Regions from separate parts of the Homo sapiens genome. Here regions 2, 3, 4 and 5 are each linked to region 1. Evidence: promoter capture Hi-C in human tissues and cell types (Jung and others, 2019). All regions are on one chromosome and are shown on one strand. Each heading gives the region's core, a stretch centred on a gene start or on the middle of the fragment in contact. The rest is flanking DNA. Distances are from core to core; before and after follow the strand shown. Region 1 holds the start of SAMD8 (sterile alpha motif domain containing 8). Region 2 holds the start of NDST2 (N-deacetylase and N-sulfotransferase 2). Region 3 holds the start of VCL (vinculin). Region 4 holds the start of C10orf55 (chromosome 10 putative open reading frame 55). Region 5 overlaps CAMK2G (calcium/calmodulin dependent protein kinase II gamma).

Region 1 (3,424 bases), core at 178-2,677:
TTTCCAAATCACTCTACTAAAAATACTATTCACACAATACCTGCAAAATAGTATTTCAATATTGGTTTTGCCAATCAGTCAAAGGTACCTCTCCAATTTTCAAGAGATAAGTCCAATCCTGGGGTTATCAGTGAGAGGAAGATTTGGTATTGCGCCTAGACTGTGGCAAGTTCACTGTGCCCCCTTCACCCAGAAACTTGCATTGACCATACATTTACTATGTGGCAAATACATGTGTCAACTTAAAACTTTGAAAGTGGAACCAGTCCATGTTGAGTATCTGTAAAATCCAAGTGTCCAAATTCTTGTTTCAAGTTTAATTTTTAAAATCTGAGTATCCAAAGTCTTGTTTCAAGTTTTTAAAACTTAAAGGTAATATAGTAAATTTTTAGGATCTTAACATGTCTGGTATTTAAACTTAGCTACGAAAAAATTACAATGAAAAAAAGGACACCATTACTGTCAATAAATCCAAATGATATCTTCATTTTCAGAATCACGTCTTCCACTACCTTCTTCAAACATCACTTCCTCTCCACTACTTCCCCCAGTCCTTTAGGCAAATCAGTGATTCACACCGCCCCTTCCACCCAAGATTCTTAAAATGATCCACTGTGCACGAACGAGAAAGCCCCACGATCCAAGTACATTGCCCTAGTGATCTTTGATGTTTTAAAAGGCACCTGTAAAAATGCCAAAGCCCAAAATTAGATCCCCAAGGGCTCCTTTTCTTTCTTGACCACACTTCTCTTTTTCAGTGCCTCCCTCACCCCTTGAGGCCAGACGATTTCCCATCCAACAGCCCTCCTCCTTCTAGTCAAACCTAAATCCTGCCCTCCATCACCACCAGCCCCACCCGGGGTGGGAGGCGGATAAGAGGGCTCCGTAAGAGGAGAACCCCATGAGAGGGCTCCAGTCCCAGCCCCGATCGCCCTCCCTCGCCCTGGGAAGGGAACACCGGCCCAGGTCTTGCTCCTCTGACTCCTCATCCCCGCTGCCAAACCCAGAGCATCTCTTCTTCCGGGTCCACATTCCCGCAGGACCTTCGATCTTTTTCCCCCACTGCGCAGCTTTCAAAAGCCCCCAAGCTCTGGGCTCTTCAAGCCTCCCCCTCTCGCTCTCTCCCTCTCGTTCCTCGGCCTCCACTTATCCCTCAGCCTTCAGGCCCTCAGTTCGACAACCTCCATTTGCTTCAGATTCCATTCCAGAGCTGACTATCCCGGTTCCCTCAACCGTCTCCCCGGGGCCCCTCCAGGTCGCGGTCCCTCGGCAGCCCCCGGCTCCATCCCAGACTCCCCACTCACCCTTGGCAGCAGGCGCCCCCCAAGCTCCCCTCTCCTCAGCCTCAGCTCCCGCTCACCTCCGCGGTCCGAGTCGGGCTCCCCGGACCCACCTCCGAGTCGGCGTCCGAGCCGCCGTCGGAGTCCGGGGCCCTCCCCGCCTCGCCGGAGTGAAGCGCCTCAAGCGGCGGGGGCGGAGCCCGGGGCGGGGAGCCGGAGTGGAGGCGGGGGCGGTGGCGACTGCGCGCAGGCATCGTCCCGGCCGCCGTCACCGCCGCGCCGGCAGCTGCTCGGAGCCGAACCGGAACTGCTTCGGGAGGCGGGGCCCTACCGGCCGGGGACGGGGTTCTACCGGCAGGGGGCGGGGCCCACACTGGAAAAGACGCGAGGCTCCAGATGGGCCCGAGAGGAGAACCGAGATGCTGCCGCGGAGGAGCCCGAGGGCGCATGCGTCATGCCGGAGGCCAAAGCGACAGGAGGAAGCGGGGCTAGCGGAGCCGGGGCGGGGCCTGTGGGATCAGTAAATGGGGTTAGGGCCTAGAAGGAGGTAATCCGAATTCCTCTGGAGAGAGCCAGCTCTTCTCCAATAGCCAGCCCCCAATGATCATTGTTATAATTTATTGCCCATTTACTCTTTGACAGTGTCTATGCCAAACGCCATATAAACATCTCATTTAATCCTTGTGCTAAGGCCGGGAGCGGAGGCTCACGTCTGTAATCCCAGCACTTTGGGAGGCTGAGGCGGGATCACCTGAGGTCAGGAGTTCGAGACCAGCCTGGCCAGCATGGGGAAACCTCGTCTGTACTAAAAATACAAAAATTAGCCGGGCGTGGTGGTGCATACCTGTAATCCCAGCTACTCGGGAGGCTGAGGCAGGAGAATCGCTTGAACCCGGGAAATGGAGGTTGCAATGAGCCGAGATCACGCCATGGCACTCCAGCCTGGGCGACAAGAGCAAACTCCATCTCAAAAAAAAAATCCTAGTGCTAATTCTGCAAGGGGGATCCTATAGCACAGAAAAGTAAAGAAACATACTGCCTGACATATTGCAAACTGATATTCCAACCCAAATCTCTCTAACATCAGATCCTGTATTTTCCTCACTCCACCATGCTGCACCACCCTGAGGGAAGGTCTCCTCCCAAGCCAGGTCTAGCATTGGCATAAACCAAGTCCAAACCCAGCTGTAACCTGGACACGAGCCCCTCCTTGGTCTTGCCTCCCCACACAGTGCCGGGCCGACTTCAATGGTTCTGAATGGGATAGACATGAGTGTAGACTGCTTCCATGGGATGCCCTGGTGTGGCCTTTCCCTTCAAACTGGTCTTAAGGCCAAGGGCAGCTGGGAACCTCCCCACTGCAGCTCATACCCTTCCCAGCTCCATTAGGGCCACTGAGAAGTCACATGAGAGAGGGTGAGACATCTCATCTCTCTTGCTGATAACCAGCTCTGGCAGAAGGACAGGTTGACCTTTCTCAGTTTCTATTTTGGGACCCAAAGCCCTTATAGGCAGAGGAATCTCCCTCCCACTGTTTCTGATGACAGTTAGCCCCTTTGGCTCTCAAAGTCTAGGGCAACACTCACCTCCCGTCTCCCCATTTGACATACAAGGCCCTCTTCAGCCTTCTCTTCTGAGAAGTTAGCCATCTTCACTACAGGACCATTGTTCAAACCTTGCCCCATTGGCCCGGCACGGCGGCTCACACCTGTAATCCCAGTACTTTGGGAGGCCGAGGCAGGCTGATCACTTGAGGTAGGAGTTCAAGACCAGTCAGACCAACATGGCAAAACCCCATCTCTACTAAAAACACAAAAATTAGTGTGGCATGGTGGCACATGCCTGTAATCCTAGCTACTCAGGAAGCTAAAGCAGGAGAATCACTTGAACCTGGGAGGTGGTAGTGGCAGTGAGCCAAGATGATGCCACTGCACTCCAGCCTGGGTGACAGAGTGAGACCCTGTCTAAACAAAACAAAACAAAAAAAAACACCTTCCCCCTCCCCCCATGAATCTTGTGGGCACCCTTTAAAGGAAGCTCTCCATGTCTCTTACCCATATTTCTCTGACTCTACAACTCAGAAAACTGTCCCTGACCTCCGTAATTCAGAGACTCATCCAACAGACATCCAATCCAGCTCCTGC
Region 2 (3,477 bases), core at 442-2,941, 1.3 Mb after region 1:
CTGGACAATCTGCATGGGCATCACCCCTCCCCGCATGTAACCCAAAAGAGGTGTCCAGAGCCAAGGCTTCTACCTTCATTGTCCCTCTCTGTGCTCAAGGAGTTCCATTCCAGGAGGAAGAGATCTATACCCTAAGCAGATAGCAAAGAAGATAATGGAGGAGCAATTGGTCATGGCCTTGGTTTCCCTCAAAACAACGCTGCAGATTTATCTGCACAAACATCTCCACTTTTGGGGGAAAGGTGGGTAGATTCCAGTTCCCTGGACTACCTTCAGGAGGCACGAGAGCTGGGAGAAGAGGCAAAGCTACAGGTTTACTTGGGAGCCAGCTGAGAAGAGAGCAGACTCACAGGTGCTGGTGCTTGGATTTAGCCAGGCTCCTCCGAGCACCTCATGCATGTCCCAGCCCCTGGGCCCTAGCCCTTTCCTGCCCTGCAGTCTGCAGTGCCAGCACGCAAATCCCTTCACCACAGGGTTTCGTTTTGCTGGCTTGAAGACAAATGGTCTTAGAATTCATTGAGACCCATAGCTTCATATGGCTGCTCCAGCCCCACTTCTTAGCATTCTTACTCCTCTTCTGGGGCTAATGTCAGCATCTATAGACAATAGACTATTAAAAAATCACCTTTTAAACAAGAAACGGAAGGCATTTGATGCAGAATTTTTGCATGACAACATAGAAATAATTTAAAAATAGTGTTTGTTCTGAATGTTGGTAGACCCTTCATAGCTTTGTTACAATGAAACCTTGAACTGAAAATATTTAATAAAATAACCTTTAAACAGTCCATTGTGTTACTGCTGTTGGAGGTTTACGGCCAGAGGCGTAGATTTTAGCAGCCTGGCTTACCAGGTTGGAGAGAGTACCTCCTCCTACTCCCTTTGGGTACTTTTGAGAATAAAACTTCCTCATGCCTGTAATCCCAGTACTTTGGGAGGCCGACGCGGGCGAATCACGAGGTCAGGAGTTCGAGACCAGCCTGGCTAATATGGTGAAACCCCGTCTCTACTAAAAAATACAAAAAATTTAGCTGGGCATAGTGGCGGGCGCCTGTAATCCCAGCTGCTCGGAAGGCTGAGGCAGGAGAATCGCTTGAACCTGGGAGGGGGAGGTTGCAGTGAGCCGAGGTCGCGCCACTGCACTCCAGCCCAGGCGACAGAGTGAGACTCCGTCTCAAAAAAAAAAAAAAAAAAAAAAAAAAAAAAAAAAAACTTCTCATAAACAGCCTCCAAACAGCGCTCGGTGCTGCGCAGGCGACGCGGGGCGGGGAGGGAGGGTGAGTGCCCTGGGAGCCGGCTGAGGGCCTCGCCCCGCCCCTGGTCCCGCCTCCGGTTAGGCCGCTCCGCCTCTTACTCCTCCCCTCCCCCGAGTGGGCCGGCCCGGCTCCCCCTCCGCGGGGCTGAGTGGATGAGCCCAGGCCTGAGCCCGCCCCTGCTCCGAAGTCGTGGTCCCCGACGCTCGGCCGGCAGTGCCATCGCGCGGAGAGGAGGGGGTGCGCTTCCGCGGGCGGGGCGCGGAGCCCGCCGTCTCGGAGGCCGCGGCTCGGCCCGGCACTGCGGAGGGCCGCTTGATTTCCCGGAACCCAGGTCGCGCGGCTGCTAGGGCCGGAGCCGGTGGATCCGAGCGGGTGCCACCAGCGGCGGCGCGCCGCCTCCCCCGGTGGGAGCGGTGGTTGGGCCAGGCTGCGGCAGAGCGTTCGCTCGGAGATGGCGGAGCAGCCGCGACGCGGCCCGTGGCCCCGAAAGCAGGGAAGCCGGGCAGCCCCGGGACGCGGCGGAGCCCGGGGACAGCGGGGACGCCGCCCAGTCCTCCGGGTGAGCCGCCCCTGAGGAGACCCCCCCGCCCACGGTCGCGCTCAGGCCCCCCCAACAGACTCCCTTGGATGTTGCCACCATCACCACCCGCAGGGTCGTCCCGGGCGGCCCAGCGTGCGCCGCGCCCCGGGTCCTTTCCGCCGGCCTCCCTCAGAACCGCCTCGCTCCCCTCCGGACCGGGCGGGCTCCCTTCTTCCCGCAGGGCTCTCCCAGCCCAGAGGCTGTCTCGATGTCACCCCGGAGTCGCCGCCGCGCGCCTGTGGCCCCTTCCCCTTTGGTGTCCCACATCCGGTGCGCTCTTCGCATCCACCTGTGCCCCCGTCTCCTCTCGGCGGGGCCCCTCCACCCGCCAGCCCCGGGCCCCCTCGGCGCCCGCAGCCTCCGCGCCGCTGCTCCGGCCGTCCCGGCCTCCCCAAGCCCGGGCCCGGCCCCGGCCCCCGTCTGGCTTCGCCGTCCTCAGAGATCTCCCGCACACACCCACCCCGCCCAGCCCTGCTGGCCCTCAGTGTTCACTGGCCCGGCCTGCGGCGCTCCCGGCGCCCCTTCCCTAAACCTTGCTGCTTCTTCCAGGTATGAAGCTAAAATGCAGCGGCTAAGAACGCGGCTCTGGAGCTTGACAGGCCTGACGTCGAATCCCAGCCCTCCCACCAACTGAGCTGTGTGATCCTGGGCAAGGTTCTAAGCTTCTCTGAGTTACTCATATGTGAAATGGGGATAATGGAGCATGTACCTTTTCCCTACCTCTTAGGGCTGGTGTGAAGATTAAATATATGTGAAGCTCTTAGAAGAATGGCTGGCAAGTTGTAATTTCTCAAATACGGGATGATACACCCTGAGTATCAACTTCCCGTCAGTGACCTCCTCACTACAATGTTTTCTCTAAAGTTGCATCACATTCTTAGCATTCACCCCTTCCCGTCACCATTTTGATCCTCTCCCCCAGCTGTCTTCTCGTGTCGTTTTACCTAGGCCAAAGCTGAACTGTTTTATTTTTATTTTTATTTTTATTTTTTTTTGAGCTGGAGTCTAGCTCTGTCACCCAGGCTGGAGTACAGTGGCACAATCTCAGCTCACTGCAATTTCCGCCTCCCACGTTCAAGTGATTCTCCTGCCTCAGCCTCCTGAGTAGCTGGGACTACAGGCGCCCACCACCATGCCCATCTAATTTTTGTATTTTTAGTAGAGACGGGGCTTCACCATGTTGGCCAGGCTGGTCTCGAACTCCTGACCTCAAGTGATCACCCGCTTCGGCCTTTCACAGTGCTGGAATTACAGGCGTGAGGCACCACGCCTGTCCTGAACTGTTTTTAAATCATCTCTGTCAATTCTGAAGGACCTCAGCTCTGCCTTATCACCCCTGAGATGTGTGTTTGGGGGTGGGTGGTAGAGAGGGATTGCCAGCCTTACAAGGAGGCTGAGTGGGGATAGTGACAATAAAGCTTACAGAAGCAGTCGATTTAAGAAAAAGAACAGACTCAGGAGGCTGAGGCCGGAGGATTGTCTGTCTGACCCCAGGAGTTCAAGACCAGCCTGGGCAACGTAACAAGACCCCCATCTCTAAAAAAAATTAAAAATTAGTAGGGTGTGGTGGTGCAAAGCTGTAGTCCCAGCTACATGGGAGGCTGAGGTGGGAGGATCACTTGAGCCCAGGAGTTTGAAGCT
Region 3 (3,320 bases), core at 382-2,881, 1.1 Mb after region 1:
GGTGTCACCCTGTCTTCCTAGCTACCAGTCTCCTAAATTGCTTGAGACAGTCCAGGGACCCCTGAAGACTGAGGAAGACTTTCAGCTGCTAAAGAGCCTCTAAGTGCACTAAAGTGCTCAAATCAGAAAAGTAACCCAAGCCCCACCCAGACAGACCCACAGTTGCCGCCCAACTGCCCTGACACACACTATTTACACAGCTCAGTGGGGGAGCAGTATGAACTTTTTCCAAAATTGTTCCTCACAAGCAGGACCAGTCTGAGTCACCCACCCAGGGTGGGAAAGAAAAGTGTGACATTAGCCAGGGGAGTCTTGGGAGACTGGTCTCAGCACCTCTTTTTTCCCATTTCAGACGTGGGCTCCACCTCCTCCAGGAATCACCTCGGTTATGAGTCACAGCTGTGGGTTACAGGGGTCTGCAGAGCCACCAGGAAAGTTGTGGATGGGGAGCGGATGCCCCAGCCTTCTCTCCGGCAGGGGCGGCAGATCCCAGATTCCACAGGCCTCTCCCAACAGCTCCATCTTGCTTCCTGCCAGGAGGAGGGGCCAAGGAGGGCCCCCGAGTCTAGAAAGGCCCCAGTGGGAGGAGGCCGTTTGACAGCAGGTAACGCCAGGTGAAAATGTCCACAGGAGGGAATGAAAGGAAGGGCAGCAGGGCTGAGCGGAAGGAAAAACCGGGCTTGTGGTCACGAATGACTGCATAAAGGTGTGAGAGTGCCAGAGGAGTGAGCATAAGTAAAATGCCCAGGAGGGAGGAGGAGGCGACAGAGAGTGAGGCAAGTGAATAAAAGGGCGGAATACAGGGAGCTCTGGGGAGCGGGGGTGGGCGAGGCGGGTCTCAGGGTGAGGGGCAGAAGTATTAGAAAGGAGGACAACGTGGCTCAAATAAGGATCCCTAGAAGAGAAGGCAAGGGATCCGTGGGAAGGCCCGCTCTCCCTCCCCCGCACAGCCAGATCGAGGAGGCCTAAAAGGCGCTGAGAGCGAGGAAGTCAACGTGGGGGCGAAGCCTGCGCGGGGCAGGGACCCTCGGACATCCCAGCAACTCTCATTTATTGGGTGTCTGCTGTGGGCCACACGCCGCGCGAGGCACTCCACGAATAATACCTCGCCATATCTTCACGACAAGCCCGCAAGGCAGCCTTTTTCATGACTGCTCCCATTTTATAGATGAGGACACTGAGGCCCGGAGAGGCTCAGGACTCGCTCAAGGTCACAGGGCGGAGAAGAGGCCATTCGAACCCTCGGCGCCTGGCTCCGGAACCCACGCGGAAAGCCACGGCCAGCGAGCCGGCCACAGGCAGCCGCGACGCGGGCCGGGGCCCCGGGGATACCTCCCGCGCCCGCTCCCGCGCCAGGCCCTGCGCGCTCACCCGGACGAGGTTGCTGACGGCCGCCTGCACGGCGGCCACGGGCGCGGTGAGGTCAGGAATGGCTTTGCCGTCCACCTCGCCCTCCTCGTGCATTATCACCAGGTGGGAGATCTGCTGTGCCACCGGCTCCAGGATGCTCTCGATCGTGCGCGTATGAAACACTGGCATCGCGGCGGCGAGCGGGGCGGCGAACCGCGGGCGACAGAGAAGTAGGATCCACGGGGCCGGGAACCGGCGAAGAGACAGACTGTGCAGCGACTACGGAGTCGGGGCTTCCCTCGGCGTAACCAGCCTCACGGGCTCCCCGCCCCCTCTCGTCGCCGCGCCCAATGGCAGCGCAGCTCAGACCTGGGCCGCCACTCCTACTGGTCCCTTTTCGAGATGCTCCGCCCCAGCCACCGCGCCGCCAAACCCCGCCCCTCCCCCATTCCTAAGGGAGGGGCCTGGGATTGGGGCTGAGCCGCCGGGATTGCTACCGGATTCCCGAGCCCTAACGCCGGGCGCTCCTTATAAGGGCATGGTGGGAGCGGAGCGGGCCGCTGGAGCCGGCTGGTCCCGCCCCCGGGCCGCCTCCCGCCTCGGATCTGGGGGGCTCCGCCCCTCTGCAGAATCACCTCAGCGGGGCGGGGTCTCCTCACCTCAAGCGGCGCTAGAGTTTGATGAGACCAAGGGGTCTCCCACGTCCCCTCCTCAACTTTTCCCTTCACACGAAACCCTCAAAATACTCCTTCCATTCCCTCCCAGCAATGCATGGGAAGGTTTTTAGTAAAAGATTCAAACAGCAGAGGTGCACTGAGAAACAGCAGCGTCCCATTCACGTAAACGCAGACTCCGCCCCCTGCCCTCCTCAAAGACATTCTGTTTAACAGCTGGGTGTGTAGCCTTCTAGACTTGTCTATAGATTCACTTCTACATATATATTTTCTAACTAAATGAGATTAATAAACATTTTCCTGGAACTAGGTATGATTGCCCTTGATTAAAATGCCCTTATCTTTCACTGCTGGTAGAGGTCTACCTCATTCTTCTTAATGACTGCATGATATTCCATTGCATGAAATAAAACTATTTACAGAACCAATTTCCTACTCATGGACTTGGGTTGGGTCCTGGTTTTCACTATTAAAAAACAATTCTGCATGAATTGTACTTACCCCTGTGCTGTGCATCTGTGTATTTATCTAGCGCAAATGCCTACCAGGAAAGAGAAAAACGCAAAAGTATATGCATTTTATATTTTGATAGGTAAGACCAAATTATCCAGTTCCCTCACGCTTTGTATAAGACATCTTCCAGGCCGGGCGCGATGGCTCACGCCTGTAATCCCAGCACTTTGGGAGGCTGAGGCGGGCGGATCACGAGGTCAGGAGATCTAGGCCATCCTGTCTAACACGGTGAAACCCCGTATCTACTAAAAATACAAAAAAAATAGCCAGGCGTGGTGGCGGGCGCCTGTAGTCCCAGTTACTCATGAGGCTGAGGCAGGACAATGGCGTGAACCCGGGAGGCGGAGCTTGCAGTGAGCGGAGATCGCGCCACTACACTCCATCCTGGGCGACAGAGCAAGACTCTGTCTCAAAAAAAAAAAAAAAAAAAAAAAGACATCTTCCAAACGTCTTACTTACTTCAAATTCGCTTTTGCCCAAGCTTTCCCATTCTGAGGTAAACACTTTCAGTAATGCCTCCAAGCAAAAGATTCTCACATCAAATGAAAATTTTTGTCTAGTCCTACCACAACCACCACAGCTGTTTTCTCTGCCCATTACTTTGTGTTAATAGTATAAATATTTGGGTGATGGGGCCAGGCACGGTGGCTCACGCCTGTAATCCCAGCATTTTGGGAGGCTGAGGCAGGCAGATCACCTGAGGTCAGGGGTTCAAGACCAGCCTGGCCAACCTGGTGAAACCCCGTCTCAACTAAAAATACAAAAATTAGCCAGGTGTGGTGG
Region 4 (3,455 bases), core at 342-2,841, 1.2 Mb after region 1:
GAATAAAAATGTTTAGTTTAAAAAGCCAATTTTTTTATGGCTTCTAGAACTTAATTCACTTTCTGGATTTTGAAAAATAGTGCCTGAGGGCAAGAGGTGATAGTCAAAATATTTAACTATCAAGATACCCCAGTAGGACACTTTCGCCTGAGCCAGCTGGAGGAGGGAGGATCTCAGAGGCCTTTGCTGTGCCACAGGCATTAACCCTGTGGTTGCTGGATCATGAAGAAGTGGAGAGAGGCTGATGGCAGGGGCCACGCGGAGAGGATCTCAGGACAGCATCTGTTTAGTCACTGAGCAGAACCAGTGCCTGCTGCTGAGAATCAGTCCTGCAGCAGGGTCATCACCAGCTGGATCCCACCAGATCCTTCCCCACCATCTCCACCTACTCATTGCCCCCCAGAGTTCTCCACCACAATGGACTATTCCTCATTTCCTTAGAACACCTCACCTTTTCATGCCTCCATGAACTTCCCTACGCCTACAATGCCTTTCTTCTAGTTTGGCAAATTTCTGTGTGTATTTGAATGTCCAGGTAAAATATCACCTCTTCTGTAAAGTCGTCATTGACTTCACCAGGCAGAATCAATTGCTTCTTCATTATTTTTCCATGCATTTTATGCAGACTTAGTATAGCACTTTGCAAAGTGGTGAGCTCCTTGAGGACTAGGACTGCCTCATTTGTATCTAAAATAATGTCCTGTGTATGGGTACTTTAAAAAAATGACAAAGGGCCGGGCGCAGTGGCTCATGCCTGTAATCCCAGCACTTTGGGAGGCCGAAGCAGGTGGATCATGAGGTCAGGAATTTAAGATCGGCCTGGCCAAGACGGTGAAACCTCGTCTCTACTAAAAATAGAAAAAAATTAGTGGGGCATGGTGGCAGGCACCTGTAATCCCAGCTACTCGGGAGGCTGAGGCAGAGAATTGCTTGAACCTGGGAGGCAGAGATTGCAGTAAGCCGAGATTGCGCCACTGCACTCCAGCCTGGGCGACAGAGCGAGATTCCATCTCAAAAAAAAAAAGAAAGAAAGAAAGAAATGACAAAGATTGTTGAATGAATCTCAATGTGACTGAAACCTCAAAAAGAGACCTAGAACATCCTTTTTTTTTTTTTTTTTTTTTTGAGATGGGGCCTCTTTATGTTGCCCAGGCTGTTCTGGAACTCCTGAACTCAAGGGATCCTCCCACTTTGGTATCCCAAAGTGCTGGAATTTACAGATGTGAGCCACTGCACCTCGCCTAGACCATCTTTTCCCTCAATTTGTTATTAAAACTCAGCAACCTCACTGACACATGCTATGCCATGGATAAAACTTGAAAACATCATGTTAAGAGTGAAAGAGGCCAGTCACAAAGAACCACATATTATAGGATTCTATTGATATGAAATGCCCAGAATTGGCAAACCCACAGAGAGGACAGAAAGTAGTAAATTAGTGATTGCCTAGGGCTGAGGGGGTTGGGGAGAAAAACGGAGTGATTGTGAGTGGGTACAGGATTTCTTTGTGAGGTGATGAAGTGTTCTAAAATTGATTGTGATGTCTCACAATTCTGTGAATCTACTAAAAACCATTGCATTGTACACTTCAAATGGTGCCAGACGTGGTGGTATGAGCCTGTAATTCCAGCCACTCAGGAGGCTGAGGTGGGAGGATCACTCTGGCCTAGGAGTTTGAGATCAGCCTGGGTGACAGAGCAAGACCCTGTCTCTAGAAAAGAGAAAGAATAAATGGGTAAGTTGTATGATATATGAATTATATCTCAATAAAACTGATTTTTTTTCTTTAGAGACAGGGTCTTGCTCTGTCACCCAGGCTGGAGTGCAGTAGTGCAATCATAGCTCACTGCAGCCTCGAGCTCCTGGGCTCAAGCAATCCTCCCGTCTAGGCCTCCCACAGTATTAGGATTACAGGTGTGAGCCATTGCACCTAGCCCAGAATTGATTTTTAAAAAACACCTCAGCAACTCCTCTTACTTCATCTAATTCAAAGGGAGGGCTTAAATGTTTCCTTCTTGGAAGGAAGGTGGACCCAATGGGAGTGAGTATGGAGGGGTATAGGCAGGGGTGCTGCTGTGGTCAGCTTGGGAAAGATAGGGCATACGTGGAAAGCAGGCTGAGTGCTGTTAATATAATGGGCTGAGAATACTTCAGAAAGAGGGGTTCTGGTGAAAACGGAAACCACTTCAATGAAACCAGATTGCAGCAGAAAGGCTGAGGTTACTGTGAGAACAGTGAAGTTTTACTTTGAAACCAATGGCTGAGTGTGGTCTCCTCATCTGGCCTGGGAATCTTCTAGGAGGAAAGAATTGTTATCTAGGAGAGGATTAAAATTCTGATAGATGAGGCTGGGCGCAGTGGCTCACGCCTGTAATCCCAGCACTTTGGGAGGCCGAGGTGGGTGAACCACGAGGTCAGGAGTTTGAGACCAGCCTGGCCAACATGGTGAAACCCCCGTCTCTACTAAAAATACAAAAATTAGCCGGGTGTGGTGGTGCACGCCTGTAATCCCAGCTACTCAGGAGGCTGAGGCAGGATAATAGCTTGAACCTGGGAAGCAGAGGTTGCAGTGAGCCGAGATGGGCCACTGCACTCCAACCTGGGCGACAGAGCAAGACTGTGTATGGAAAAAAAAAAAAAAATTCTGGGCTGGGCGGGTGGCTTACAACTGTAATCCCAGCACTTTGGGAGCCCAAAGCGGGTGGATCACAAGGTCAAGAGACCGAGACCATCCTGGCCAACATGGTGAAACCCCGTCTCTACTAAAAATACAAAAATTAGCCGGGCGTGGTGGCATGTGCCTGTAATCTCAGCTACTCAGGAGGCTGAGGCAGGAGGATCACTTGAACCCGGGAGGCGGAGGTTGCAGTGAGCCAGGATTACGCCACTGCACTCCAGCCTGGCAACAGAGTGAGACTCCGTCTCAAAAAAAAAAAAAAAATTCTGATAGCTGTTGCCTAGAAACCCAGCAACCATAAAGTAGAAAGCTTGAAAGGGGGGCTGCTCTCCTTTTGCCCTAGTTGGACTCTCCTGAGAGGTGATAAATCCTAGTACCGCGCATGAGGACTCTGGAGATGGCTGCCTGGGTTCGAACCCTGACTCTTTGCATTTGGAGCTGCATTGCCTCGTGCAAGTCACTCAATCTGTCTGTGCCTCCATTTTCTCTACTGTTAAATGGGGCTAGTGATACTACCTTCCTCATAGGATTCTTGGGAGGATTAACTCAGACAACACATGAATAATTTAGCACAGTGTTGGTCTGGCATGGTGGCTCATGCTTGTAATCCCAGCACTTTGGGAGGCTGAGGCGGGTTGATCACTTGAGGTTAGGAGTTTGAGACCAACCCGGCCAACATGGTGAAACCCCATCTCTATTGAAAGTACAAAAAATTAGCCAGGCGTAGTGGCGGGCGCCTGTAATCTCAGCTACTCGGGAGGCTGAGGCAGGAGAACTG
Region 5 (3,278 bases), core at 707-3,206, 1.3 Mb after region 1:
ACCAGAAATTTCTCTAGGCATTGCCAAATGTCCCCTGCGGTGGGGGGGGGCGGGCGGCAAATTCATTCCCAGTTGAAAACCACTGCTCTAGACTGCCCCCGCTCCCTGTCAGGAGTTTGATGACAGGGATGGCAGGATGGTTTGCTATGTGGACAGTCTGATTTACGTGTGTGACTGTGGCTGGGCGCAGTGGCTCACGCCTGTAATCCCAACACTGAGAGGCCAAGGTGGGTGGATCACTTGAGCTCAGGAGTTCAAGACCAGCCTGGGCAACATGGTGAGACCTTGTCTCCACAAAAAAATACAAAAATTAGCTGGGCACGGTGGCTCATGCTTGTGGTCCCAGCTACTGGGGAGGCTGAAGTGGGAGGATTGCTTGAGCCCAGGAGGTCAAGGCTGCGGTGAGCTGTGTTCACGACATTGCACTCTAACCCAGGCAACAGAGTGAGACCCTGTCTCAAAAATAAAATAATAAAATAACTTTGGGTTTTTTTCTCTACGCAAAATCATCAGAAGTGCTCCTTAAATGCCCTGTTTGGAAGCTCTTAAGTACATTGTTTCTTAAAGGTATCTTTGTACTTGTTTTAGCTGCCTTACTGGATGCCAGACCTCAGGGCAGCTATTGGGTCTTGTCCATCTTCATTATCCTAGGCACTCAATAAACATTTAGGGAAATGAATGAGTGCACCCACCGCCAAAGTAGCTTAGGTTGTTTAGTTGGACTCTCCTTCCTAAGTTGCCAGCACAAGCTTCTTCTCCAAGAACAAAGTTACTGTATGGAGAAAGAGAAAGAAGGAAGGGATTGGATGCTCTCTTCTTCCTCAGGATTCTGGGCTGTCTCCTGATCTCTTGGAAATGAGTTGGTTGTGTTAGACCTTTCCAGTCAAAAGGGGGTGAGAGGAACCCGTTCTAGCGGTGATCCTAGAAAAACCATTGCATCTGCCTGGGCCTCGGTTTCCTCTTTCTTTAAATAGGTTGAACAAGATGATGTGCAGAGTCTAAGGTTCCAGTGGCCGTTAAGTGATTCTCTGTGAATCCGTGGCCCCTTGTCACATGCCTTAGTCTGCAGCATGTGGTTGTGGATGTGGATGAGGTGGTTTAACCCTGCGCTAACATTTCTTTTCCTTCTGCTTTTTTAGCCACTGTATACATCAGATTCTGGAGAGTGTTAACCACATCCACCAGCATGACATCGTCCACAGGGACCTGAAGGTACTACCCAGGCTCCCCTCCGTGCCTCTGCTCATGAAGTGTTGGCGCCACCTGGTGCCAGATAGTGGTACTGCGTAGGCCCAAACTAGGCTTCCTCTGGGCTGCAGGGTGGGTGCTCACAAGGTTCTCTGTGTTTCTTCTGCAGCCTGAGAACCTGCTGCTGGCGAGTAAATGCAAGGGTGCCGCCGTCAAGCTGGCTGATTTTGGCCTAGCCATCGAAGTACAGGGAGAGCAGCAGGCTTGGTTTGGTAAGGGTGATCCTGTCTTCCCGGAATGCAGCCCCCGCCCTTCCTCCTCTTCCTGATCTGCCTTCCTCTATTAGAACTAGAAGCCAGACCCTTAATGGTCCTGGCCTCCGAGATCTCTCTTGGCCGTACGCGACTCAGTACAGTAAGTCTAGCTGTTGTCAGCACTGCTTTCTTGCTGCCTGTGGGAAGGAGCTGGAGTTCCTGGTAGGCATACGGCTTTGCCGTCTGGTTCAGATTCCAGGCGCTACAAGAAGCCCAGCCTGTCAGCTCTTGCTGCCCATGTGCTGAGAGTTTATGTAGCAAAAGCAGCAGGAATAAGATGGGACTTGGGGGAAATGGCTGGTGTGGATTTAACGAGAGAGAAAGTGGGTTCAGTATGCCTCTGCCCTCTCTTTTGCTACAGGTTTTGCTGGCACCCCAGGTTACTTGTCCCCTGAGGTCTTGAGGAAAGATCCCTATGGAAAACCTGTGGATATCTGGGCCTGCGGTAAGCCCATTCCACGCTCTCAGCTTTTCGCTGTTAAGGGCCCTCAACTTCCGATGATGGCAAGAAAGAGGCATCGCTATTCCTTGCAGGTCACACACGTGCCTGGTGTATGTGAAATTATGGTGTTTGCCCCTGGGATGGCTGTTCCCATCACACCCTCCTCCCTGCGTACTTCTGGGATGACATTGTATCCTTCTTGGAGAGGGATTTGCCCACGCCTTAGAGGATGGGTTGTGCCTAAAGAAATCCCTGGTGTGACTTGGTGACGTGAAGTGTGAGGCATAGCAGGAGGGGCTGGTAGCATAGCATTATCGGCTGGCATCCACTTCTGACTCTGGTATGGCCCCTGCCTTTCTAGGTGGCTCTGAGCCCTGCATGGTTTTTCTTGGTTCCTCAGGGAAGTAGGCGACTGACCCCCATGACCTGTGTGTTCTGTCTCGTAGGGGTCATCCTGTATATCCTCCTGGTGGGCTATCCTCCCTTCTGGGATGAGGATCAGCACAAGCTGTATCAGCAGATCAAGGCTGGAGCCTATGATGTAAGGACCAGAGAGCCGGGCAGCCAGGCCAGGAAGGGCAGATGTCCTTGCTCCTCGGGCTCTGTCCAAGGGAGCAGGCTTGTTTAGTGTGTCACGTGATACGGGGGTGTCAGGGGACTTTGAGGACCCAGGAATGGGCATCCAGGGCCCAATTCTTGCCACTCTATGTCCCAGGGAGCAACTTTCTTTTGCACAGCCTTCTTCATAACTAAAATTGAGGAGTCCACTGAAGTCCTTTGATCTTTACTTGCAAAGAATGGAGCGGCCTCATTGGTGTGCTGTGTAACACAGGGACAAAAGGCCTGGAGACTCCCTCCACTGCAGTGGCACCTTGGACACATTGCTGAGCCTCTGTTCCCTCCTAAGTATAGAGCTGGGCTTAAACCAGAGAATGTTGGAGTCCCCTTCCCGCTCTAATCTGATGTTCTGGCATTCTAAACATGACTGTTCTGTCTGTCTTTCCAAGTCTTTAAGTTGACACAGGTTCTGGAATAGCCGCAGGGCTTCTCCAACTCTGCCAGTCACAGCTTTAGGTACCACAGAGTATCCCAATTACAGGAGTTGAGTTGAAGACAGAACCAGTGTTGCAGGGTATGAAGCTCACCAATACCACATTCTTCTCCCTATTCCTGCTCCTTAGTTCCCATCACCAGAATGGGACACGGTAACTCCTGAAGCCAAGAACTTGATCAACCAGATGCTGACCATAAACCCAGCAAAGCGCATCACGGCTGACCAGGCTCTCAAGCACCCGTGGGTCTGTGTAAGTGTCTTTGCTAGTGGCCAAGGAGCT

What was found. The method cuts DNA at HindIII sites, captures the fragments that hold promoters and counts their contacts. A contact is called where the count stands out against the background at its distance.
Region 2: the fragment with the promoter of NDST2 here is called in contact with the fragment with the promoter of SAMD8 in region 1 in 1 of the 25 tissues and cell types used here (aorta).
Region 3: a contact is called between the fragment with the promoter of VCL here and the fragment with the promoter of SAMD8 in region 1, in 1 of the 25 tissues and cell types used here (dorsolateral prefrontal cortex).
Region 4: the fragment with the promoter of C10orf55 here is called in contact with the fragment with the promoter of SAMD8 in region 1 in 1 of the 25 tissues and cell types used here (heart left ventricle).
Region 5: a fragment that was not itself captured here is called in contact with the fragment with the promoter of SAMD8 in region 1 in 1 of the 25 tissues and cell types used here (liver).

The regions. Positions count from the first base shown.
Region 1 is chr10:75,109,659-75,113,082 of GRCh38, reverse strand. SAMD8 (sterile alpha motif domain containing 8) reads right to left here and starts at 1,427. Exons shown (of 6, transcript NM_001174156.2): 1 at 1,361-1,427. RefSeq lists enhancers at 719-1,667, 1,668-2,617 and a silencer at 1,341-1,680. The HindIII fragment of the contact is 21,981 bases long and covers 1-3,424 here.
Region 2 is chr10:73,809,812-73,813,288 of GRCh38, reverse strand. NDST2 (N-deacetylase and N-sulfotransferase 2) reads left to right here and starts at 1,691. Exons shown (of 15, transcript NM_003635.4): 1 at 1,691-1,815; 2 at 2,386-2,490. It overlaps CAMK2G (calcium/calmodulin dependent protein kinase II gamma), which reads left to right. Exons shown (of 23, transcript NM_001367534.1): 23 at 1-788. It overlaps NDST2-ZSWIM8-AS1 (NDST2-ZSWIM8-AS1 readthrough), which reads left to right and starts at 1,469. Exons shown (of 18, transcript NR_182658.1): 1 at 1,469-1,815; 2 at 2,386-2,490. RefSeq lists silencers at 1,177-1,886, 2,187-2,256. The HindIII fragment of the contact is 10,328 bases long and covers 1-2,876 here.
Region 3 is chr10:73,996,427-73,999,746 of GRCh38, reverse strand. VCL (vinculin) reads right to left here and starts at 1,631. Exons shown (of 22, transcript NM_014000.3): 1 at 1,372-1,631. The coding sequence starts at 1,539. RefSeq lists enhancers at 679-1,330, 1,403-1,602 and silencers at 1,283-1,332, 1,663-2,022. The HindIII fragment of the contact is 15,261 bases long and covers 1-3,320 here.
Region 4 is chr10:73,920,913-73,924,367 of GRCh38, reverse strand. C10orf55 (chromosome 10 putative open reading frame 55) reads left to right here and starts at 1,591. Exons shown (of 5, transcript NR_160938.1): 1 at 1,591-1,735. RefSeq lists an enhancer at 2,901-3,455. The HindIII fragment of the contact is 6,339 bases long and covers 1,413-3,455 here.
Region 5 is chr10:73,847,195-73,850,472 of GRCh38, reverse strand. It overlaps CAMK2G (calcium/calmodulin dependent protein kinase II gamma), which reads left to right. Exons shown (of 23, transcript NM_001367534.1): 6 at 1,140-1,212; 7 at 1,358-1,460; 8 at 1,864-1,947; 9 at 2,391-2,485; 10 at 3,126-3,248. Among named protein-coding and RNA genes, the nearest start is that of CAMK2G, 26 kb to the left of the region's middle. The HindIII fragment of the contact is 4,404 bases long and covers 1-3,278 here.